Linked DNA regions of Homo sapiens: regions 2, 3, 4 and 5 are each linked to region 1. Evidence: promoter capture Hi-C in 16 types of primary human blood cells and fetal thymus (Javierre and others, 2016). All regions are on one chromosome and are shown on one strand. Each heading gives the region's core, a stretch centred on a gene start or on the middle of the fragment in contact. The rest is flanking DNA. Distances are from core to core; before and after follow the strand shown.

What was found. The method cuts DNA at HindIII sites, captures the fragments that hold promoters and counts their contacts. A CHiCAGO score of 5 or more calls a contact.
Region 2: a fragment that was not itself captured here is called in contact with the fragment with the promoter of TP53BP2 in region 1 in 1 of 17 cell types (fetal thymus); the score reaches 8.1 in fetal thymus.
Region 3: a contact is called between a fragment that was not itself captured here and the fragment with the promoter of TP53BP2 in region 1, in 1 of 17 cell types (erythroblasts). The highest score is 5.1, in erythroblasts.
Region 4: a fragment that was not itself captured here is called in contact with the fragment with the promoter of TP53BP2 in region 1 in 3 of 17 cell types (monocytes, activated CD4 T cells and total CD8 T cells); the score reaches 6.3 in monocytes.
Region 5: a contact is called between a fragment that was not itself captured here and the fragment with the promoter of TP53BP2 in region 1, in 1 of 17 cell types (naive B cells). The highest score is 6.8, in naive B cells.

What each region holds. Positions count from the first base shown.
Region 1 is chr1:223,844,667-223,847,238 of GRCh38, forward strand. TP53BP2 (tumor protein p53 binding protein 2) reads right to left here and starts at 1,281. Exons shown (of 18, transcript NM_001031685.3): 1 at 988-1,281. The coding sequence starts at 1,014. RefSeq lists a silencer at 1,109-1,418. The HindIII fragment of the contact is 2,144 bases long and covers 121-2,264 here.
Region 2 is chr1:223,133,447-223,136,018 of GRCh38, forward strand. TLR5 (toll like receptor 5) reads right to left here. Exons shown (of 6, transcript NM_003268.6): 4 at 1,236-1,418. Among named protein-coding and RNA genes, the nearest start is that of TLR5, 8.5 kb to the right of the region's middle. The HindIII fragment of the contact is 696 bases long and covers 948-1,643 here.
Region 3 is chr1:224,499,710-224,502,281 of GRCh38, forward strand. It overlaps a transcript of CNIH3 not described here. Among named protein-coding and RNA genes, the nearest start is that of WDR26, 66 kb to the left of the region's middle. RefSeq lists enhancers at 533-1,033, 1,034-1,534. The HindIII fragment of the contact is 3,572 bases long and covers 1-2,572 here.
Region 4 is chr1:224,386,106-224,388,677 of GRCh38, forward strand. WDR26 (WD repeat domain 26) reads right to left here. Exons shown (of 14, transcript NM_001379403.1): 14 at 1-2,572. Among named protein-coding and RNA genes, the nearest start is that of MIR4742, 11 kb to the right of the region's middle. The HindIII fragment of the contact is 982 bases long and covers 784-1,765 here.
Region 5 is chr1:224,369,616-224,372,187 of GRCh38, forward strand. CNIH4 (cornichon family member 4) reads left to right here. Exons shown (of 5, transcript NM_014184.4): 4 at 1,668-1,808. Among named protein-coding and RNA genes, the nearest start is that of CNIH4, 14 kb to the left of the region's middle. The HindIII fragment of the contact is 948 bases long and covers 818-1,765 here.

The DNA.
Region 1 (2,572 bases), core at 31-2,530:
GTGAGAGTTTGGGACGCCCTCCATGACACAAGCAGGGGGCCAGGGAACAGCATATTATACTCTGTATGTATGACTGCAAACTTTGTCATCACTCCATTCCACAGACTTCATAAAAGTAAAAGCTTTTTGTTTCTTTGTCTGAACAAATGGAGCCACAAGCATAGGATGCCTGCAAGATGTCCCCACTTCAGTGGGAGAGGTGCAAATACAACTTCCACGAAGAAACTCGCTACTGAAGTCTGCAGAAGCCACCGCAACACACCGCAAACCTCCATTCCGCGATCGCTGAATGACAGAGACATTTCTGAAATGTCTCAAACCTGCTGTTCATCTGTGGCCTGGTGGCCGTGTCAAAAGCCTGCGGAGCTCCTAAAGAAGGCACTAATCCTCTCCGGAGGTCTTGCTAAAAGCTGTGGGAAACGAAGGGAGCCAGGCACGTACGCTTTCCTGCAATCTAAAACTTCCGAGATTGCATTTACCAAAACCCCTTTCCACAAAGAGGTAAGGGTGACTTAGCTGCTACTGTGGATATCAAGATCGAAATTCAATTAAAAACAAAGCAAAGGTACCCGTTCCAGTAACGTATGTTTCACTCCAGTAAAAAGTAAAAAGACACAGCAAAGAACAAGGTCCCCGGTTCCCGTATTCTTGACCTTCAAGAACTGCAAAAAAGTCAAGACCCAGTGAAAGACGAAAAGTTTGAGTGGCTGCTGGGCTCGCGGGCGGCTCGCCTGACTCCGGAGCAGCTGGAGGAACCCGCCTCGAGGTTAGGGTCTCGCCGCGCCCCCACGACGGCTGTGGGCGCAGAGCCCAGAGGATGGAGCCTCCCCTTCCTGAAACCCGCTCGAAGCTCGGAAAGCCCCGGCCCCTCCGCGCGGGCTGCGGCCCCCAGGCTCCTTCCCCGACGCGCCCGAGGGCGCGGACCAGCCCCCGGCACGCGACCCCGCACACTTCCGGGCCCGACGCCCTGGCCGCTCGCCCACTTACCGGCATCATCTTGGACCCGAACCGCATGGAAGCGGGTGGCCAGACTGCGGCCCCGGCCGAGCTGAGGTGCCCCGGAGGGTCGCGGATGCGGGGGAGGGGAGCGGAGAGCGAGGCCGCCCGGACCTGTTGCGAGGCGGCGGCGGCGGCAGCGGCGGCGCGCGGGTCCGAAGGGCCCTCCGCGCGGGCTGGGGCACCAACAAGCCCCGGGCTCCCCCGCCCCGGCCGGGCCCCCTGACGCGGCTTTGTCTCTTCGACGCTCGTGACGGTCGGGGCTCCCTCCTCCGCTCCGAAACCAACTAATCCCGGGTCGGGCCCCAGCCGAGCCCGTGCCGGCTCCGCCCCCCGCGCCGACCCCGCCCGCGGCGCGCCCGGCGGCCTGGGGGAGGGGCGGCCGCGGGAACGGGAGCTGCGCGCGCCTGCGCGGGCCCGGCTGGGTAGACGGGGAGCGGCGGGAGCCGGCCGCCTTTTCTTTCTTCGCCCCGGACTGAAGTGCGGTCGGGGCCGCGCGGCGGAGCGGCTGGAGCGCGCGCCTCCTAGCGGAGCCGGGGCAATTGGAAGGCCGCGCCTCAGGAAAACAGGATGGTAGTGAATGGCACCGAGCCGCCCCAGGGCTGCCGCCGTCACCTCCTCGGCGGCTCCGAGTCGTGCGAGGCAGGGGACCCTTTGCCTTCAGAACAGGGCGCCCGACGTTGGGCGCGTGGACAGAGTCCTCCGGCGGCCGCGCCGCTGGGCCAGGCGGAGAGAGGCGGACGGACTTCAGGGGAGGCCCGGGCCACGCCGCGGAAACTACCCGACTCCCTGGAGGCGGCCAGGACCGACCCTGTCCCGACAAAATGGAGTTCCCCGTGTGGCTTCAGCTCGCGGCGCGTTCCCAGAGCTCCTCAGTGATCCGGCTTTCGGATTGTTCGCCTTTCATCTCATTTGCCGTTGTCCAAATTCTAATTTAAAACTCATGTGTTACTTGCTGTAAGGTTAACAAACGTACACCGCAAACTGGATAAAGGGATAACTTTTATGTTGTGTATGTTTTACCACAATAAAAATAAATTTTGTAAAAATGTGTCAGGCAGCATTCTGAGGAGCTTCCCTGGGGGGTGCTGGGAACACCCTGCAAACAGCCTCCGATACGGGGAGCCGGTGGATACCATCCTTTTCCAGGGAGGGAGGCCAAGGCCTAGGGAAATGGCAGGGCTGCCTTCCAAAGAGTAGCAGAGCGGGTTCAGGCTTTTATTCCACCTTCCAGAGAGACACATACTGCGGGAACCCTAACTCCAGGAAGCTTTGTTCTAGTAAGTTGTCAGTGCAAGTTCACTCAGAATCACTTTTCTCTGCCTTTATACATGATTCTAGAACCTGAAGTGGGGTAAATCCCCTGGGTTTATCTAGTATCAAGAACAGACAATTCTTTCTTAGCCCACCATATCCCTTACCAGAATCTCCATCGAACTCCCTATTGCACCATCCCAGATACTGTATCTGGAAATACTAAATTACGGTTAATTCAACTAGAATTTAACGTTCTCGCCCGGGCGCAGTGGCTCACGCCTGTAATCCCAGCACTTTGGGAGGCCGAGGCGGGCAGATC
Region 2 (2,572 bases), core at 46-2,545, 710 kb before region 1:
CCTGAGAGTCTGCATTTCTAACGGGCTCCCACGTGATGCTGCTGCTGGTCCACTGACCACACTGTTAGCGGTGAGAACCTAAGAGTCTGTAATTGCCTCCCTGCTCATTACCCCCATGCCCACGTGAGCTGCCTCGTTCTTCCAGGATAAGGCATGGCTAAGATGCTGCACGATTGGTTTTGAGAAGGGGCTATACTAATACATTCACTTCCCCTTCCTCCCCATTTTTCTCAGCGCTGAAGAGTGAAGCATCAGAGAGTACCTCAAAGAAGATTCATGTGAGGCTTTGAGGAGGAGGGGATGGATGGGTCATATCGCTTTACTAGGAGCTAAGGAAACGGGACAGCTTGGGTGCGACTTCTGATTTCAGGAGATGCGCTTTCCCTAGAGACCAGCAGAGGGCGCAAAAGGGGCAGGGACCGAGGGGGAGGAGCCCGCGGAGCCGCGGCCGGAGAGTCGAGCGGGGCGCGGGGAGCTGCAAGCGTCCCTGAGCTGAGCTCCGCTGGGAAGTTCCTATCGCTTGCGCAGTAGAGTGCATTTAGACATTTCAATGACAACTAAATTTGTAGCTGGATTCAAATCCTAGCTCCACAGTTTAGTAGGTGTGTGAGCTTGGGCGAGTGCTGAACCTCTCTAAGCATCAGTTTACTGCCTATAAAATCACAGCAATAAGTTTCTACCTCCCACCCCCGCCGCCCCTACCCCGGCAGCAACAGCCTGCTTCCGGCTTCCAGGGATCCTCCAGTGCCCAAACCAGAATATCCAGTTACCCATGCTTAATACTCCAACAGTTCTTGCTTGCTGAAGTAGGCAGCCATCATTTACGCAACTACACCTTACCAGAAACGCCTTCCCTTTAGAACACTGAAGGGGAAAGTTAGAGAGGGAAAGGAAATTTCTCAAGGCACTGGGGTGATTTTGTGTTTCTTTAGCATGAGTTACCGGAAAGCTTCCTGTGTTTTCTTTACTATCTTTAGGTGGTGGTTCCCAGCATCAAAAAACAGCAAAAACAGCAGCAAGCAAAGGCGCTGATACTCTGAAAAGTTATGTTGAAAACACATGGTTTAGGTACAGAATGGCTTCCCCGTTGTTTGCACATTATAACTCTTTAGCACACAATTTTAAAGCATCTGATTGAAAGAAATAATTTTTAGTGATTATTAAAAACGAACAACTAGCACAACATTTAAAATCGTCGGGAAAAGGTGGCTCGCCCAGAAAGTGAACATCCCTACCTGTCTCCAGGTTCGGACAGCGCCAACATTCTCAATTAGAAAATTAACATCTGAGGCTCCGACATCTTCCCTGGATGCTAAATCCTGTGTATTGATGGGCAAAGTCAATTGCCAGGAAAGCTGGGCAACTATAAGGTCAGGGGGCTGGAGCAGATGAGAGTAGGGAAGTCCAGTATAGCATCCCTGAAAGTAATGACACAGACAATCTGCTAAGCGCTGCAAAAATCATTTGGAGTGTGATGTAAATTGGAAACAGCTGGGGTGGGGGTGGTGACCGGCAACTAGGAACCCTATTAACCTGATCAGTTAGATACGAAATGGGAATGTGAAGAGAGAGTATCAAACACTTGAGAACTGTTCTGAGAGGGATGTGTAGTCTGTGCTGGGCTAGCAAAGGAATCAAGAGAAAGCTTCCCAGGCAGATAAAATCCAATGCACCCTGCAGCTGCTGGAGACACCCCCTGATGCAAGGTAAGCCCTGAAGAGGTTGAGAAGGAAAGGTGGGGGGCACTCAGGCCAGGATGAGGATGCCCTGAGAGGAAGATGATTTCACTGGTGTTGCCTGAGGGACTGTAAGCAGGGACAGGTGAGGCTGGGGAGCGCACCCCTGCTGGAAGCACAGGTCCCCACCCTGTGCCCAGTGTCCTGGGACCCGAAGGAGGTTTACTGCATGTGGAATCTGCCTGGGCAGGCTGCCCAGGGTGGCTATGCTCCATTCTGAGTCAGGGCAGGGAGTCAGCTAGTTGATTTGGCTCCAACTTGCTAGTGGTGGTTACTTTCGAGATACATGAGACCATGGCAAAAATGCTGGGCTGGGAGAGGATAAATATCGGTTCTAGTCCTCCTTCAGCCACAGTCTGGGTATCCTAGACAACTCTAACTTTCATTGTCCTCAGTTTCTGCATATGTATAACGGTGAGTTTGAAATGGAAGCATTTTTAAATCCTTGTTAACTCTGAAGTTATCTAAGGAAACTTGCTGAGTATCATCATGACAGCAATCATAGACCAGGGCCAATCCTCCCTGAAGCAGAACATTCCTTCTTCATTCTGGCAAATTTGCAAGGCTGTTACACCGGATCTTGAAGATACATAGTGGAAAATGATGTTATTAATGTACCGATGAAAAAAATGGAACCACATATATCCTAGCTTTAAATAGCAACTTTTTCCCCCCTCAAGAAATTACCCTCAGAGGAGCTTATGTCTGCGGCTAGATATTTTGAGATTTGACTTTTTTTTCCCCCTCTCCTTGTATTTCTGCTTTCCTAGGCTCACCTCCACCTCTGTAGCCAGCTCCCTAGTCATTGGTCCAGGGCAGGTATATGTCAGAACCCT
Region 3 (2,572 bases), core at 41-2,540, 660 kb after region 1:
AGCATAGCTCAACTGCCTTATACAATACACGCCGTTATTTGCTTCTGGGACAAAAGAAGTCTAGAGTCAGCTGACTGGGCACTGTGGCTCACACCTGTAATCCCAGCACTTTGGGAGGCTGAGGCAGGAGGATCGCTTGAGGCCAGGAGTTCAAGACCAGCCTGGGCAACATAGCGACATCCTATCTCTACCAAAAAAAAAAAAAGAAAAAAGAAAAGAAAAAGAAATCTAGTGTCAGAGTGGGGCTTTGGGTAAGGCTCAACAATTCCCCAAGGATCTAATTCCTTTCTTTCTTTTTTCTTTTTTCTTTTTGAGACAGGATCTTACTGTGTCTCCTAGGCTGAAGTGTAGTGGCACAATCATGGCTCACTGTAGCCTTGACCTCCTGGGCTCAAGTGATCCTCCCACCTCAGCCTCCTTAGTAGCTGGGACTACAGGCCTGCACCATCAAGCCTGACTAATTAAAACAATTTTTTTTTTTTATAGAGATAGTGTCTCCTTATGTTGCTCAGACTGGTCTCTTGAACTCCTGGTCTCAAGTCATCCTCCCACCTCAGCCTCCCAAAGTGCTGTGATTACAAACTGAGCCACTGTGCCTGGCCACAATTTCTTCCTAATTCTCATGGTCCCAAAATGGTTGCCAGCAGCCTTCATCTCATGTCTCTAAAGAAAGAATGACTTGGCTGGTGCAACAGTTCATGCCTGTAATCCCAGCACTTTGGGAGGCCGAGGCAGGCAGATAGCTTGAACTCAGGAGTTGGAAACCAGCCTGGCCAACATGACGAAACTCTATCTCTACCAAAAATACAAAAACTTAGTCAGGCTTGGTGGCATGCATCTGTGGTCCCAGCTGCTTGGGAGGCTGAGGAGGGAGGATGGCTTGAACTCAGGGGGCGGAGGTTGCAGTGAGGCGAGATTGTGCCACTGCACTCCAACCTGCTGGGCGACAGAGTGAGACAAAAAAGCAAAGAAAAAAAAAAAAGAATGACTTTTCCCCAGCATTCATGACTGATCTTTAATCTGAGTAGACTTGTTTCTGACGTACATCTGCCCCTGCACCAACCCCAGTCGCCAGTGGGCTGGGATGTGCTGAGTGGCTACCTGCTGCACGATTTCCCTTGACCTCAAGACTCCCCACAATGCAGTGGATGCCTAAGTGGACAATGAGGCTGCTAGGATGGAAGAAGGGGGGCTGGAACCCGAGGAAGCAGCCGGCATCTGTGCATTCCACACACCCTGCACCATCACATCTCCATGCCTCCCCTTCTGCCACTTCCTGGAACCTACCATCTGCTTCCACTGATCAGAGCCCTGCTTATGCTTCAAAGCCTTGCTCGTGGGCCACCTCTGCTGCTGTGCCTCTTCTGTTCTGGAAACAGTAATCTTTTTTTTCATCTCTCTACTCTCTAAAGCATATCATGTTTCTATCTCATGTGCATTTACTAATTCTGCTTTGTTTTATGTCCACTTGTTTGTATATTTGACTCCTATATTGAACAGAAAGACACTTGAGGTAGGCGGAGTCATACTTTGTTCATTGTAGGGGTTTAAGAGTGTTGAATAAATGGTCATGGGCAATAATACTATCATTATTGAGAGCTTACTGGGTGAAAGGCACTTTGTAAAGAATTCTTCTCATAATTTTATTTAATCTCATTTAATCTTGACAACAGCACCATGAGGCAGATACTATTATTATTGTATCCAGTTTACAGATGAGGGTCCTGGAGCTTAGAGTGATATAAGCGAATTGCCCAAGGTCACATGCTCAGCAGACAGCAGCATAGGCTTGAACCTATATATATATATATATATATTTTTTTTTTTTAACCCCAGAGTTCATGTTCTTAATCATGATAATGTTTTATACAGAATTTTTTTTTTTTTTGGAGATGGAATCTCGCTCTGTCGCCCAGGCTGGAGTGCAGTGGCGCGATCTCGGCTCACTACAACCTCCGTCTCCCAGGTTCAAGCGATTTTCCTGTCTCAGCCTCTGGAGTAGCTGGGATTACAGGTGCGTGCCACCACGCCCAGCTAATTTTTTGTATTTTAGTAGAGACGGGGTTTTACTGTGTTGCCCAGGCTGGTCTCAAACTCCTGAGCTCAGGCAATCCACCTGCCTCGGCCTCCCAAAGTGCTAGGATTACAGGCGTGAGCCACTGCTTTATACAGAAATTTGTTTGTGACCAGCTACTTTCCTGGAAGAGGGGTCCCTGTTGGAGATGATTCTGTGGTGAGGAGGCTGGAGGAAGGTAGGGTGGAGGGGCAGAGGACCTGGAGGCTTCATGAGCAACTGGAGGGAGGTGCTGAAGAATGTGGGGAGGGCAGGTGAGCAGAGGATCCTCTGGGCCTTGTTCAGAATGGTTTGCCCAGAGGGGTCTTCCCTGAGGATACCACTTGTGGGCAGAACCCAGGAGTGCTGCAGATACGGCTCCCGGAGAGTGAAGCCCTGGTTTTCTTGGGGTCCTCAGAAACAGAGGGAATCAAGTCACTTTACTGGCCCAAGGGAATGGAAATTAGGGGCCGAAACAAACATCTACTGGGATAAAATAAGTGGTGTGAGTGAGATTGC
Region 4 (2,572 bases), core at 25-2,524, 540 kb after region 1:
TTAACAACACTGAAAAATTTCAATTAAGTTCACCCTGTTTTTAGAAAGTGTCTAAGTGTAAATGCAAATTCACCTCTTCTTAAGTTAGCAGTTTATATTAAATCAGATATGGTTTCTGAAATGGAAGTAATGTGTTGGAGGGCAACCCAAAAGGACAGTTGCGAAATTATGAATGAGAAATTAAAGTAAAACCAAATCAAAATATTTATACATTTTAGAGATGGGACAAAAAGGATATTAAGAAAAATGTCTTCTTTCCTCCCCATTCAAAAGCAGCCATTCTTCTACTGTGAAAGAAACTGACATGGATATTTTCCCTTTCAAGAGATGTATGATATATTTACCCACTGTGAGGCAGAGGTGATAGGGTCAGTTCTTGTTTGCAGGAACCAACATCCTAAAAAAGAAAATGTCAAGATGGGGAGGGGTGGGAAAGAAGGGTTTTCTATTAATGTCATGGAATATGCCACTGTAGAGGCAGAACACTCCTAATAATAACATTCACCAGATTACTACTGCTGTTTTTTTCAGACTAAGAAAATACTGACAAAATTGGATTTTTTTCTCCTTTCAATTGCAGGATATTCTGATTATTTAAAGTTAGGGAATCCCTTTTTTATCCCCCCACCCAATAAAATGGGCCAATTTGTAGGGATATATGCAAATAAAATGTTCTCTGTTTAAAATACTTACCTGGTTTAATATAACACATTTATCTGGCCAATAAGAGCAACAGAAATGTAGCTGTTATGAAGACTAAAAAAATACAAAAACCAAAGCTGAAGCTTTGTCATCCCTCCCCACTAACTCCCACTCCAATTCTTTACTACCCACATACTAATCTCAGTAATCCCCAAGTCCAACATTTTACCATTAATAACCAATTATTTGGAGGAAAAAGACATTTAATTTTATATTTGCTCTAGCCCTTAATCAATGCATAACAACAAAAACATTTTTAAGCACATGGAAATGAGCCTACTAACCTGATTTTTGGAGCCCAAATTCTCCACTCTATTTTGATCTATGTGCAAAAAGTATTGGTACTTTTCAATTTATACATTTGTTAGTATCTTGTGGCTGGCTTCATAGTATAAGACTCACTCTTAAGCCTACTATAGAGCCTACAGCACTATCAGAAGTTTTCAATTAATAGCTATGGATCAGAAAATCCTGCGATCAGTTTCTCATACCATAAAATCCTAGGCTTCTTTACCATTGATTTCACCTTTCGAGCACAGTCACTGCATGGCAAATGTATGAAACAGACGTTTACAGCAAATAAGTACCAGTATGTACAGGAAGCTGCCAGTTAAGACAGACCCGGAAAACAAACTCACCTAGCTGCTATAGAAACCTTTGCATAGTTGTTACTCCGTTTTAATAGGAGTTATGTTCTTGTAAAATGTGCCTCACTTTTACTCCACTTTTTAAAAAGTGTTTTTAAACTGTACTTCAGAAGCACTCTGAAAACTCAGATCTAGGGGTGGTTAGGTGAAGTAGAGTAGAATCTGAGTGCCAAATTGCCCCTGAATGGGCACAAATCTGAGTGTTACAAATGCACCGTAGCACACTGTAACCAAATTTGTAAACAGCTGTGGAGTTTCTATGCCCACATTTAGTGATGTTACCATAGAGACTGGGGTGTATTAACGGCTTCAGGGTATACATGAATCACTTAAAATATGAATGGTTTTTAACTATACTGAGGTAAAGAGAAGTTGCCACTTAATTACATACAGTTACCAATGAAGATTTTTATTCAAGCTTAAAGTAAAAAGTAATTTTAGTTAAGAAAAATGAAGTACCAGATAAACTGTAACATATATTTTAACTTAGAAGTATCAAAACAGGAATTTTTTGATTCTCTAAGTGGTGGTCTCTGCAAAATGGAGCTTGAAGAAATCTTTTACATACCAATTTGATAAGAGTCTGCTGACCACGATCTGTCATTTTCTTTACTATGGGCTTCTGGGAGAATGCATGCTATTTTAAGGCCAAATGTGTTTTTCTTTCTTCTCCCCTTCCCTGACTTTTCCCTTTCTCCCATCCCCGACCACCTACCCCACAATGGAAGAATTTTTGACATCCAAGCCCTCTTCTCTTTGTGGATTCTGGAGTCTATTCATGATCATAATTATATTATAGACTTGGCTACACCTAAAGGGGAACTTAGTACAAGACTTTTTCTTCACCAGAATCTTATTTTGGGGGTATCCCCATTCTCATTCCAACAGCTGGAGTCACCCTATTTATCCTCTACTGAAAAAGGGAGGGAATTTCAAGGGAGACTATGTTATGTTGTATTCAGCTGTTACGGAGTTTAAAAGCACAATGTGAACATCAGGCTTTTGGCTTATTTTAAATGTGAAATTCTCAAAATTAAAAGTGCTTTTCCATGAAGGAAACCTTTCCTTAAACTAAAACAGGAGGGGAGAGGGAAAGACTATCCACAGCACCAGTTTAGAATGAGGTTCAGTATGGCAATATCTGAAAAAACTGAGAAAAAATATTCTTTAAATTTATGTATCCCTATATGTCAAAATATTAAGGGCAATTAAGAAAAATGACT
Region 5 (2,572 bases), core at 42-2,541, 520 kb after region 1:
CGTTTGTAACACAAAGGATAAATGCTTGAGGTAATGGATACCCCGTTTACCCTGATGTGATTTTTTTTTTTTTTTTTTGAGACGGAGGTTTGCTCTTGTTGCCCAGGCTGGAGTGTGATACCGCAATCTTGGCTCATTGCAACCTCCGTCTCCCGGGTCCAAGCGATTCTCCTGCCTCAGCCTCCTGAGTAGGTGGGATTACAGGCATGCGCCACCACGCCTGGCTAATTTTGTATTTTTAGTAGCAATGGGATTTCTCCATGTTGGTCAGGTTGGTCTTGAACTCAACCTCAGGCAATCCTCCCGCCTCGGCCTCCTGGAGTGCTGGGATTACAGGTGTGAGCCACTGTGCCCAGCCTTACCCTGATGGGATTAGTACACATTGCATGCCTGTATCAAAATCTCTCATATAACCCATAAATATATATACCTACTGTGTACCCACAAAAATTAAAAATAAAACAAAAATACAAAAAGGAAAAAAAAGACAGCTAAGTAAGTGGTGGTAGGAAGAAAGACTGGACAAGGGTTTGATGGACTGGCTATGAAAGATGAGGAAGAGAGAAGTCCCAGTTGGGTAAGAGGAAGTTTTTAAGGACCACCAAGAAAATGGTGACACTCTTATTAGATAACCTAGAAATTAGACAAGGATGAGATGTTATCTGGATATTCAAATGAAAATACCCTCTATTCAGCTATAGTCGGGCTACTGGGGTTTTAAGGGAGAATTTCAGATTTGTGGAACTCAGAGAGTCCTTTGCATTTCAAAGAAGTGATAATTGAGAAGCTGTGTGACAACTAAGGTTGTACTAGAAGAAGCTTAGACGTGAGAGCAGGAAGAATTCATGGACAGTGCTAGGTTAGGACATATATGTTACACAGATGACACAGTCTGGATGTTGAAGCCCAGACACTTAAATTCATTGATCCTCTCAAAGTAACCTAACTTCCTTAATTTCCCTGTTTCCATAATGAAGTTTCTAAGAACTTAATAAAATTGGTTTGGGTTTGAAGCCTTCTTTAACCTTTGTCTAATGGAAAAGGGCTGTAGATGTGACTGGTATGGTAGTTTTCTACAGATGAGTAAAAGGGTTTCAGTGCATAAAATATCCTTTTCTGGAATGTTACTGTATTTATTTTACAGGGCAGAAGATTAACAGTATTATAACTTTCAAAAGGAAACTAAGTGGCAGCCCATGACATTATCATACTACTCTGTACATATGTGGTATGAATTTAAGGCTGCTATGATTGGCTCACTTTTTTTTTTTTTTTTTTTGAGATGGAGTTCTGCTCTGTCACCCAGGCTGGGGCTCAATGGCACGATCTTGGTTCACTGCAACCTCTGCCTTCCGGGTTCAGGTGATTATCCTGCCTCAGCTTCTCGAGTAGCTGGAATTCCAGTTGCCTGCCACCATGCCCAGCTAATTTTTGTATTTTTAGTAGAGACAGGGTTTCACCATGTTGGTCAAGCTGGTCTTGAACTCCTGACCTCAGGTGATCCACCTGCCTTGGCCTGCCAAAGTGCTGGGATTACCGGCATGAGCCACAGTACTGGGCCTGATTGGTTCACTTTTAAAAGTCGATTATTATTGGCTACTTATATTTGAATACTTATGCCTATGATTTGATTATCCTTCTAATGTGTGTATCCTTTAATTTATCAGATACATTATGGTGCCGAGTGGTAACATGGGAGTGTTTGATCCAACAGAAATACACAATCGAGGGCAGCTGAAGTCACACATGAAAGAAGCCATGATCAAGCTTGGTTTCCACTTGCTCTGCTTCTTCATGTATCTTTATAGGTGAGTTTAAAGTCCTGGTATTTTCCTAGATGCCATATTTGTTTTTGAAGGGTGAGATATTACTATACTATAGGATTTTGCATTGACATTGTGGAACTTTCGGGGATTATGTAAATTCCTTGTGGCTGTGTAGATTATTTATGTATGTCATTGAATCAGCTTTCTGTCTGAACTACAGTAGATCTACCCTGTTGCATCTTAGTTATGCCTTAGCTTTGAGGCTATCCACATGCTTAAAACAGGGCACGGTGACTTACGCCTGTAATCCCAGCACTTTGGGAGGCCGAGGAGGGCAGATCACCTGAGGTCGGGAGTTCGAGACCAGCCTGACCAACATGGAGAAACACCGACTCTACTAAAAATACAAAATTAGGTGGGCGTGGTGGCACATGCCTGTAATCCCAGCTACTTGGGAGGCTGAGGCAGGAGAATCACTTGAACCTGGGAAGCAGAGGTTGTGGTGAGCCAGGATCGCGCCATTGCACTCCATCCTGGGCAACAATAGTGAAACTCTGTTTCATATTTTTTTCCTTCCCTAGTAGTATACAGCTGTGGAGTTCCACTGCCTGTTATAAGCATTAATATATGTGCCTCAGCGACCATCCCACTCATGGTCTTTGGGGGATCACACCACTAGCAGCAGCTCTCAGCAACTTTTATCCAAATTGTGCTGATCTTTCTTGGCAATAAGTAATTTAGGTGTGATGCTCATTCTCCAGCATGCTAAATGTCTATTATGGTAAAGTTGTATCAGTCTTCTAGTT